Regions from separate parts of the Homo sapiens genome. Here all the other regions are linked to region 1. Evidence: promoter capture Hi-C in human tissues and cell types (Jung and others, 2019). All regions are on one chromosome and are shown on one strand. Each heading gives the region's core, a stretch centred on a gene start or on the middle of the fragment in contact. The rest is flanking DNA. Distances are from core to core; before and after follow the strand shown.

Region 1 (2,780 bases), core at 155-2,654:
AGGGGGAGGTGGAATTGGAGGACACGGAGGAGGACGGCGCGGGGCTGTTGGTGCAACTCCACGTGGAGGCGGGCGAGGGGCTGTCTCCGCTGCTGCTCAGGGCGGCGCTGGCTCCTCCCGGGCTCAGCAACACTGCCTCGGAGAAGAGCGCCCCCGGCAGGCCCCCGCCGCCGCCCCCGCAGTGATCCGCCAGGCGCAGGGTCTCGGTGAGTGCCCAGATGTAGTTGTGGGCGAAGCGCAGGGTCTCGATCTTGGTGAGCTTGGCGTCCTCGGGGAACGTGGGGAGCACCTCGCGCAGCGCGTCCAGTGCCGCGTTGAGGTTGTGCATGCGGTTTCGCTCGCGGTTGTTGGCCTTCAGTCTACGGGTCTTCTTGATGCGCTGCACCGTCTCGGCCGTCTTGGCGCCTCGGGAGACGGCCCGCGCCCGGGAAGGGCGCCGTTTGCAATCGTGTACCAGACCCAGCAGCCGTGCGGGCCGGCAGCCCTCCGCACCCGCAGCCACGCCGCCCCGCGCCCCCTGCCCGGCCTCAGCCCCGCGCTGCCGACGCGCCCCGCCTGACGCGCCCGGCTCCTCCTCCTCTTCTTCGTCGGCGCTGGATGACAGCGGGGTCAGGGCCGCCAAGGCGGGGGAGGCCGATCCGAGCAGCACTAACACGTCCTCTTCCTCCTTCAACTCCAAGGTCTCGGATTTGACGAACATCCTACCGAAGAGAGAAAGGGGAAAAAGGCAGTGAGGTGTAAGGAAAGAAACAGAGGCGCGATCTTCGTGTCACAGGGGCGTGCTCCGGCGCGCACCCGAGAAGACCAGCTCCGAATGGCGCGGAGCAGGAAGGCGAAGGAAGAAACCCAGGCAGTGCTAACCAAGGTCAGGAGCGCCGCTAGCGCTCGCTGTGACCCTGCTGCCAGTCAGCCGGGTCCTGCCCTCCGCGGGCGGTCCTGCGTTCCCTCCCCGAGAAGGGACTGCGGCCTCCGCGACAAAGATTCTGCGCGGAGCAGAGGGCGTGCGGGTGTGGTTGGACTGAGTGCGGGGAAACCACCTGCGTAGTTGGAAGCGGTGGCTCGAATACTTACTTAGTTGGCTCTAACTGTGCCTCAGCGTTGCTGTGACTTTGGCCTGTGCCGGGAATCTCCGCGCAGCTGCGAGCGCAGCGCCGGGTCCTTCGCCCGGCGTGAAAGCTGCAAGCCCGGCGCTACTGTGGCGCAGCTCCGCGGGGGACCTCTGCGACCGGCGAGTTTGCCAAGAGCCCCGGCGGCGGCGGCGGCGGCCCGCCCGGGTCTCGTGTGTTGTGGTGGTGGTGCGTGTCTGTCTGTCAGTCAGTCCCTGGCCGTGCGGCTCCTGGCACGCGACTCCCAGGCACTCCAGTTAACGCGAAGCTGCTTGTGGTTCAGTGGCTGCGTGTCTGGCACACGACTCTCCTTAAAACCCCTTATATACCACCAAGAAAACAATCAGATCTGCCCCGGGCCCCCTCCTCCCCCGCCACCGCCTCCTCCTCCTGTCAGTCCTGCCCCCCTTCTCCCCCGCTTTTCCCTCCTCTGGCTTATTCTTTTCATTGCATTATCATCATTCATTTCTTCCTCTTTCTTCACCGCCTTTCCCCCTCCCTTGGCCCTGCCATCCATCCTCCTCCTCCCACCACCCCCGCCTCTCTTTTCCCCCTTTATCTAATCAACATAAAATGGTTCTAAAGCTCCTGTTGGAGCTCCGGGCTGCGGCCGGAGCTGGCGAAGCCGCAGCGGCCGCAGAGGCTCAAGCTGCGGCTGTTGTCGCCGCCGCTGTCCATTGTGATTGGTGGCTCGCGCTCGGCTGGAGCGTGCCGCTAATTTATTAATGAATGGAGGTCGCGAGGCGCAGCTGGCCAATCAGGGCGCCCTGGACTCCGGGAGGCCTGCGAGCCACGCGCACCGGAGCCCGCTCCCTTTCAGCAGCTCATTAGGGGCCCGAGCGCTGGGGGCGGATGGGGGGACCCGTGCTACCGCCCCCGCCTTCGTCCTCGCTGCCGCCGAGGCTCCCCCCGCCCGGCGCGCGCGCAGGCACCGCACCCGGCGCTGCCGGCCCTCCTAACTCCCGGGTGATGGGAACTAGGAATTAGTTAATGGGGGTCAGAATCCCGGGGAAAGCAGTTAGCCCTGTGGTGCTGCCGGGCGTCTCTTGGCAAAGCCTCTTAGGGGTTGTATCAAATAGTAAACGATTTTAAAATGGATTCATTTGGTTAGGGGAGGAGAATGGCGTGGATGGAGAGATGTGGACACCTCGTGAACAAGTGTGTTTGGGGTCCGTCGAAACTGGCGTGGGAGAGTGAAGGGAGAGGACACTGGGGATTCAAACAGGCGTCTCTTGGGAGGGGAGGTCGGATAGGGGAGCAGTTGATGAGCTTTTAGAGGATGTGAGAATGAAATCACTCACATGTTAGAGCTGAAAGGATCCCCCTCATTTTACATACAGGAAACTGAGGCTCCGGGCACTGATGCAGGTTTTGCTGGGGTTAACCCAGTTTATAGCCTGGAGGGACAGCAAGGAGGCTTCCTGCGTGGGTGGCAGCGAACCGAGCGGGAGGAGCGGCAGAGCTGCTGCTCCTGCAAGCAAATGCGCTGCGCTGACATTTCTGTGACCTCTGCTCCGCGCTGGGGGGCGTTGTAGGGACAAGGGGCCCATCTTCCCAATTCTGCTTTTCAATGAGAAAAAAGAGCTGAAGGGCTACTGGACCTCGGGGGAAACTTGTTCTCAATTGCTCGTTAGCCCTCCCCACTTTCCCCACGTTCATGCCCACCCTCTTGTC
Region 2 (2,780 bases), core at 165-2,664, 120 kb before region 1:
CCATTGCTTCCTGAATAGCCTCACACATCTACCCCACTTCACTCCTCCACATCTCTTCTCCATGCACAGAGGTGTTTGTGCAAACTACAACTCTAGTCTGTCACCCTAGTATGCCTAGGAATGCAAAACTCTGAAATGAGGCCCATGGGCCCTGCCAGGCATAGTCCTTCCCTTGGCTGCCCCTGCTGCATCATCTCCATCTCATGGCCTCCTTTCAGTCCACACTCTTACCGGGATTATTCCATGCACATAGCTGCTCTCCATTCCCGAGACATTCTTCCCTCCCTCCTTTGCCTGATTAATTTCTGTGTATCTTTCCCTTCTCAGCTCACATCTCAGTTCTCAGGGAAGCCTGCCCTGATCTCTGGGACTAAATCAAACTTCCTCAATATAGGCTTGGCTATAAGGTATCACCTTTTCAAAGTTGCAGTTTACATTTGTTTGTGGGGTTTCTTTTACATTTGTTTACATTTGTTTGTGGGGTTTCTGTCTCTCTCTTCTGCTAGCTACAAGCTTCATGAGGTCAGGGCCTTATCTGTGTTCACCATTATATCCCTGACACTTAAAATGCATACCTTCAAAGAACACCCTTGGATGGATGGATGATGGATGGATGGGTGGATGGATGGATGAATGAAACCGTATTAATGTTATTTGAAAAACATGGTGTTTGATGTGCATGTGTGTTGAAATATATATGAGGCTGCCCCATGTGTGGCCCACAGTCAGACAATTGTCTAGGTACTGGTCAGGAGGATAATGCCCATGTATCTCTCAGGGATGGAAGGCATTTAAGTAAATGCCTTAAATGTTTCCTGATAAAGAAATGAAGTAATCACCTGAAGAAGATAATGCTATTTGTTGTGCATATTATAAATTGGAGTGGGGAGATCCTGAGTTTGGGGAGCACACTGAACTGCCAAGGAAAGAATGATTATGTGAGGTCCTGCATAAACGTTAGGCTTGAGAGAAGTGGAAAGAGGAAGCATATCTAAGAGACATTATGAAAAACAACCTAAGGTATGTCATGATTCATGGAATGAGCTAGACTGAGGTAGATTGTATTATTGTTCCCACATATTCACTTTTGCCATGTGACTTGCATGCCTCCCTCTGAAAGGAATATACCTTCCCATGGAGATATTAGGCTAGGCCCTCACAACCTGTCTTAGTCTATGAAATGTGGCTGGAAGTGACATATGCCAGTCCCTAGCAGAAGATTTATGAGCCGTTGTGTTGTTCAGCAATTGGAAGTTTTCCTTTGCCTTGTGAACAAGGTAGGGGCTACTCCCTCAACCTGAGAAGGGCAACAAATGTTGAAGAGAGTGTCAGTGTTACAGCCAAACTGCAGGCCATAAAAAGTATGGACAACAATTGCCAAAACAATTTTGTCATTAAAGGCAATTAAATTTTAGCATTATCACAGTCTTACCATGTATCATGGGTTGAATTGACCCCCCAAATGATGCATTAAAGTCTTATCCCTCGGTACCTCAGAGGACTTTATTTGAAAATAAAGTTATTGTAGATGGAATTAATTAAGTTAAAATGAGGTCATACTGGAGTAGGGTGAGCCCTTAAGCCAGTGTGACTAGTGGCCTTGTGAGAATACCTAGAGACATAGGGTAAATGCCATGTGATGATAGAGGCAGAGATTGGAACCATACAGCTGCAGATCAAGAAGCACAAGGGTTGCTGGCAACATCAGAAGCTAAAAGAAAGGCAGGGAACAGATGCTCCTGTTAGAGCATGGCCCCACTGACGTCTTGATTTCAGACTTCCAGCCTCCAGAAGTGAGGAATGATACATCTATATTCTTTTAAATCACCCAGTTTATGGCCTTCTCAGGAAACTAACATACCAAGTGCATATGTGTAAGACAATGAAGCAAGAAAGCTTTCAAATGACTTCTAGATTCTTAGTATGTAAGCCTGTGCCTCTATAGAACAGAAGGCAAAATAAACCCCAGTCCACAGGAAAAAAAAACAGAATTTGTTCAATGGAATATTTCAACAGAAATGCTTCTAAAAGGAAAAGAAGAATAGGCTCTAGTATCTACTAAGTTATTTTATTCTTAAACATAACTAGAGAAAATAGATTGGGAAAAACATATCACTCTTCCCACTTCATCAGTTTGTGGTAAATAGTACAGTCAAGAGCCCACTAAATATTTCCATTTGGATGTCCTAGATGTCTCAAGTTCAATAGGTCCAAAACTGAACTCATAATCTCTCAACTTCTTCTCCCTCCACCAACCAAACTTTATCCACCCCCAGCGATCACCATATCGGTAAATGGCACTACAAACCACCCAGTTCCCCAAATCAAGACCTTGGCTTTAACTTCCCCCCAACCCTCATATCTCATTTGTTACCAAATTCTAATAATTTTCCTCTTAGATGTCTCTCAAACACATTTTCCTTTCCCTAATCCTACTGTAACTATTCTGGTTCCAAGCATATCATCTCATTCTTAGAATATTATTATTATTAGGTTAGTGAAAATGTAATTGTGGTTTTTGCAATTAAAAGTAATTTCATTTATCTGAGACAGTGTATGTCTCTGTTGCCCAGGCTGCAGTGCAGTACAGTGGTACAATTTTGGCTGACTGTAACCTCTGCTTCCCAGGCTCAAGCCAACCTCCCACTTCAGCCTCCCAAGTAGCTGGGACTACAGGTGCATGTCACCATGCCTGGCTAATTTTTTATTTTTTTGTAGAGATGGGTTTCCCAGAGCCGTGTTTCCCAAGCTGGTCTCAAACTCCTGAGCTCAAGTGATCC
Region 3 (2,780 bases), core at 126-2,625, 100 kb before region 1:
TGTGCCGAATTTGAGTGTGGAGTCTGAATTTACTCTGCCCACAAAGCAGGAAACCTGCCATCAAATAATTAAGAAAAAAAAATTGTTCAGGACTGAAATTTCTGGGCCCCAGGAGATCAAATGCAAAACTATACTCTAGAGAAGTATCCACACCCAGGGCCATGGGAATCTCACAGGAAAATATTCTTGGCTAAAGATGACCTTACATTAAAATTATAAGCAACAGGCTGGGCAGCGGCTCACGCCTGTAAACCCAGCATTTTGGGAGGCCAAGGCGGGTGGATTACCTGAAGTCAGGAGTTCGAGACCAGCCTGGCTAACATGGTGAAACCCCATCTCTATTAAAAATACAAAAAATTAGCCTGGTGTGGTGGCAGGCGCACGAAATCCCAGCTACTTGGGAGGCTGAGGCGGGAGAATTGCTTGAACCCAGAAGGCAGAGGTTGCAGTGAGCTGAGATCATGCCATTGCACTCCAGCCTGGGTTACAGTGAGACTCTGTCTCAAAAAAAAAAAGAAAGAAAGAAAACAAAAAAGAAAAAAAAAGAGAAAGTAATAGTAATTGATGGGGAATTCCCCACAGAACAGGCAGCGCATGCAAGTTTGTTTTTATATAGACAGGATACAAGAATTCAACTACAAAACCATGGCTGAAGAGCACAGAACACCCTCCCGGTTGGTGAGATAAGCTTTTGGCATTTCACCTGCTAGTAAGGGTGCCCAACTGCCAACCAGACTGCTTCAATGGGGTGAATGAGATAAAATAAATCCTTAGAAAAATGAAGTAAAAAACAAAGATACAAAAATGCAAGCTTAATGTATTTATTATCATCAGCTTCAAGAGTTATACAATTATTTTGGCAAATCATAATAAAAATTTCTAAATGCTCACTCTCAGTGTTTCACTTAATCTCCTCGATTCAGGCTAGCAACAAAAAGACACAAATAGTAGTGCTCCCCAAACTTCAGTGTGCTCTGAATCCCCTAAAGATCTTATTAAAATGCAGATTCCGATTCAGTAGATCTCTGGTACGGCCTGAGATGCTGCTGTTCTGTGAACCTTGCTTGACTAGCAAGGGATCATCTAAAGATTCTAACCACGTGCCTGGCTGCCCACCTGGGACTAATGACCACTAACAACCTTAAAATCAAGGTACATTTTCTACAGCCAGTTTCTCAGATGTTCCAACCCCATAACTGACCTACCGGAAATGTACGCCTGCAATACCATTAACAGTGGGGGAGAAAATTATGGAACTGGAAACTGTATTTAAAAAAAATGTTGAAAATGAAGCACAGAGAGCTAAGTAGATGAAAATAGGGAAGTTTAAAAAACTCAAAGAGATTTAAAAAAACACAGAAGCATAGGAAGACTTCTAGCGGGACTAACTAGACTCAGAATTGGAGAAAATTATGTCTTTACACTGAAGGAGTATATCTAGCCTTGGGCAAAAAAGTTTTAGGCCAGGCATGGTGACTCACACCTGTAATCCCAGGACTTTAGGAGGCCAAGGTGGGAGGGATCGCATGAGCCCAAGAGTTCAAGACCAGCCTGGGCAACACAGGATGATCTCATCTCTACAAAAAATAAACAAAATCAACCAGGTGTGGTGACATGTAGCTGTAGTCTCAGCTACTCCAGAGGCTACGGTGGGAGGATCTCTTGAGACCAGGAGATTGAGGCTGCAGTGAGCCATGATTACACCACTGCACTCCAGCCTGAGTGACAGAGCAAGACCCTGTCTCAAAAAAAAAAAAAAAAAACTTTTTAAATAAATTCAAGACCATACCTAGTGTGGTAAACTATAGAAAATCATACAATAAGAAAGTCTTAAAGAAACAGACAGAAAAGACAGATTAATATAGGAAGTATATTTAGACTAACAAAAAGTATCTTATCAATAATAAGAGTCCAGAAAGCAAGAGAATCTCCAAAAAATTGAGAGGACATAGGTTTTGACCTCGGATTTTATACCTAGCAAAATTGTCATTCAAAAGTGAGGATAAAATAGACATTTTCAGACCTGATTGGCTAAAAATAAATTATTCTCAAGACAGCTCTCTCATTCACACACACACTCACATACACACTAAAGGATGCATTTTTCTAAGAAGAAAATTGAACTTAGAATGAAGAAGTGGAGAGTAAAAAAAGATGATGACTAAAGAATGTGGTAAATACATTTAGCCATATAAGATTAAAATAAAAGGAAATTATATGGCAATATCACTTATATAATTAATAAGGTGCAAAAAATCTTGAAATATTACCAAATTGACCAACATTGTATTAAATTAATAATGCATTACAATCAAGGAAGGTTTATTCCAGATACATAAGGATAGTGGGTTTTATTTTTGTTTTTATTTTTTGGGGGACACGATCTCACTCTGTTACCCAGGCTAGAGTACAGTGGTGCAATCATGGGTCACTGCAGCCTCAACCTTCCAGGCCAAGCAATCCTCCCACTTTAGCCTTCCAAGTAGCTGGGACTACAGGCATGTGCCACCATGCCCAGCTAACTTGTTTATTTTCTGTAGAGTCGAGGTCTCTCTACGTTGCCCAGACTGGTCTTGAATTCCTGGGCTCAAGCGATCCTCCTGCCTCAGCTTCCCAAAGTCCTGGGATTATAGGCATGAGTCACCGTGCCTGGCTGATAGTTAAGTATTTTTAAATCTATTCATTTAGTGCACCACATGCACAGAATAAAGAAGAAAAAGTATGTGTTCACCTAAATAGATTTTTTAAAGTTAACAAAATTTTCAACCGACTTAGGTTAA
Region 4 (2,780 bases), core at 281-2,780, 78 kb before region 1:
GTTGTGACAGCAGCCCTGATACACCAGAGTATACCATAGGAGGACCTGAGATGAGAATAAATTGAGAATAAGAGACATAGAGAATGGAGTGGCAGAGTTCAATATATTTCTGATCAGAAGAAAATAACAGCAAGAGAGCAAAAACAATATTTGAATAGATACTTTCTGGTAATTTTTCAGAATTGCCAAAATACACTAATCTTGAAATACAGAAATCACAGTGAATCCTAAGGACAGAAGGGAAAGGAGGAAAGAAGCTGGAAGGCAGGTAGTCAGACATCCTGTGTACCTAGTTTGACTAGGTACACAGTAGTCAAACTCCAAACACTAAGGACAAAGAAACCATTTTAAAAGCAGTCAAAGAAAATAGACAGATTACGTACATAGAAATGTCAATTTGACCTACAGCTGGTTTCTTCATAGCAACAATGGAATTCAGAGACAATGGAAGTCATATACTTAGTGCAACTCTCTTTTATGGAGGAAGACAAAATAAAGACATTTGCAGCTTAAAAGGAAAAATGACCATGGCAGTTTACCATGAACAAATCCTCACTAAAGAAAAATGATCCCAGAAAAAAAATGGTACAAGATGAGAGAAGATATGGACTTCTGTTCTCAGATTGATGATCCCCTGCCTAAGACTGGAGGTCTTCTGGCAGAATGTTCAGGAAATGCTCCAGTAGCCAGTACTCACAGGTTCACTCTCTTGTGCACACCTCTGGTATCAGTCAACAAAATTCTGAATTAGTTCAAACCCTCTATAGGTCTTGCGGTCTCTCCATAGAAGAACTGCCTAAAGCACTGGTATGGCATCCCTATTACAACAACTGCTCCTCTGCAGGCTGCCTTCTGAGGCCATACTGCAGCCTCCACTATCAGATTTCCTTTCTGGTCTTCAGGAGTCTGAATGGCCAAAACCACAGCCTCCTTAAGTTCCATTATTATATGGGATTCAGAAATTTCTGGAGAGAGTTTACTCTGGTTGAAGTCTATGACTCAAACAATTCCCCTTGATTTTTGGTGGTCACTCTGGGCACATGTGAAATTACTCACAAATTCACACCAGTTTACAGCAAGTATAAACTACAGTAAAGTGCAGCACTGTTTTGCTTCTTTCCGCATGTAATCATTTACTGCCTTGTGTCTTCCCACACCAACTGTGCTATTAGCTCTTGAAATATACAAATCATGTCTCACACTTTCTTCAAGTCACTCAAGACTAGCACAGTGTTATGCACATAATAGGTATTGACGGATAATAAGTATTTATAGGAATGAAGTAATCATAAAAGGAAGGGATAGAGGAAGGCTTCAGATTGATGAACTGACTATATAAGGCCACACTGCAGGGAGTGGAAGGTTTTGACTCCAGAATCCATGCACATTCCAGTATACTTTGCTGACCCCCTTGTCTTACCAGAGGTCTGGAGAACTTCTACATTAAGTGACACTTTCCCTTTATAATCAGTATCATTCTGGGTCAGCTAGAATGAGTGTGTTCCATTGTTCAAGTAGCTCTTACAAAATTATTTGAATCTTGAGATAAGTCAAAATAATTAATATTCAGTCTAAGGCAGAGAAAGAGATCTTTCAAGCATTTCTGCATATGTCTTTTGATCTCCTCTCTCTTACTCCATAGTAAGTAAGACCACTTTTGCATTTTGTTGTGTGGATTTTCTTTGTTCATAGGTATGTTGGGAAAGACTATAAGGAGCAGAAGGGGCTCTGGCACCACTTCACTGATGTGGAGCGACAGATGACCGCACAGCACTATGTGACAGAATTTAACAAGAGACTCTATGAACAAAACATTCCCACCCAGATATTCTACATCCCATCCACAATACTACTGGTAAGATTATCCTGAACACATCATTTGGATCTTCCAAATCACACTTGAATATCAATTAATCTGAGTATCTGGTTCCACATAATCAGGCTAGCATTTTTAGCAAACTATCCTTGTGTGTTGTCCCTGTACTTTCCAAGAGAGAAAGAACCCTAAAGATTTATCTAGTACAAACTATCCCCTCAACATGATACATAAATCCCATTTTACATCTGTTGGCCTCACCCCTTGCAACCAAGTGATTGCTAAGTCAAAGCTTACACACCTTCAGCAAGAAAAAATAATTGTTCTCCTTTCACTTTCAAGTAATCCTAATTGTTAGAAAGTTCTTAGACTTAGCCCAAATCTATCTTTATCTAACTTCTGTCCATGGATTACAGCTCTCCCTCCTGGGACCATGAAGACCAGTCTCTCTTCACTAACATACCCCTTTCAATAGATAAAGGCTAATATTCCCATTGAGTTTTCTCTTCTTTGGATCAAGAATGCCTTGCTACCCCGAATATATTAGATCCTGAGTGCATTCATACTTGCAATAATTTTTTCATTGGCCAGAGACATTTTTAGACCCGTCTTTTCCTAATCATAATAGTAATTATCATCCATTTCATACCTTCTTTATGTCACTCACTGTGCCAGGCAGTTTGCAAACCTTAACTCTAACCTTTGAAACAACTCCACAAAGCTGATGTTTTAACCTAGAGTCCCTGAGCATGATCTAACTTCATGTCCTGGTAACCTAGCCTCCAGGACAGGTCACGTCATGGCCTAAATCTTAAGTGAGCAGTTTAATATGTGAATGACAATAAATTTAAGTTCTATGACATGCCACATGCCGTGTTAAGCATTTTACATGCATTTCCTTGCATAATCCCTTTAACAAGCCTAAAAGGTAGTTATAATTATACCTACTTTACCCATGATGAAA

Evidence for each region. Contacts are between HindIII fragments. The study calls those that stand out against the background at their distance.
Region 2: a contact is called between a fragment that was not itself captured here and the fragment with the promoter of NEUROG2 in region 1, in 8 of the 25 tissues and cell types used here (H1 embryonic stem cells, IMR-90 fibroblasts, heart right ventricle and 5 more).
Region 3: a contact is called between a fragment that was not itself captured here and the fragment with the promoter of NEUROG2 in region 1, in 2 of the 25 tissues and cell types used here (mesendoderm cells and neural progenitor cells).
Region 4: a contact is called between a fragment that was not itself captured here and the fragment with the promoter of NEUROG2 in region 1, in 2 of the 25 tissues and cell types used here (mesendoderm cells and spleen).

What each region holds. Positions count from the first base shown.
Region 1 is chr4:112,514,776-112,517,555 of GRCh38, forward strand. It overlaps NEUROG2 (neurogenin 2), which reads right to left and starts at 1,405. Exons shown (of 2, transcript NM_024019.4): 1 at 1,072-1,405; 2 at 1-701. The coding sequence starts at 700. It overlaps NEUROG2-AS1 (NEUROG2 and ZGRF1 antisense RNA 1), which reads left to right and starts at 604. Exons shown (of 4, transcript NR_161159.1): 1 at 604-865. It overlaps LOC124900760 (a long non-coding RNA gene), which reads left to right and starts at 2,030. Exons shown (of 2, transcript XR_007058231.1): 1 at 2,030-2,264. RefSeq lists silencers at 37-236, 497-566, 1,887-2,166 and enhancers at 2,176-2,780, 2,307-2,406, 2,507-2,626. The HindIII fragment of the contact is 15,153 bases long and covers 1-2,780 here.
Region 2 is chr4:112,389,994-112,392,773 of GRCh38, forward strand. The region is part of intron 4 of ALPK1 (alpha kinase 1); the gene reads left to right. Among named protein-coding and RNA genes, the nearest start is that of ALPK1, 94 kb to the left of the region's middle. The HindIII fragment of the contact is 5,643 bases long and covers 1-2,780 here.
Region 3 is chr4:112,415,131-112,417,910 of GRCh38, forward strand. All of the region lies in intron 5 of ALPK1 (alpha kinase 1), which reads left to right. Among named protein-coding and RNA genes, the nearest start is that of NEUROG2-AS1, 99 kb to the right of the region's middle. The HindIII fragment of the contact is 3,375 bases long and covers 1-2,780 here.
Region 4 is chr4:112,436,792-112,439,571 of GRCh38, forward strand. ALPK1 (alpha kinase 1) reads left to right here. Exons shown (of 16, transcript NM_025144.4): 13 at 1,693-1,855. Among named protein-coding and RNA genes, the nearest start is that of NEUROG2-AS1, 77 kb to the right of the region's middle. The HindIII fragment of the contact is 4,969 bases long and covers 1-2,780 here.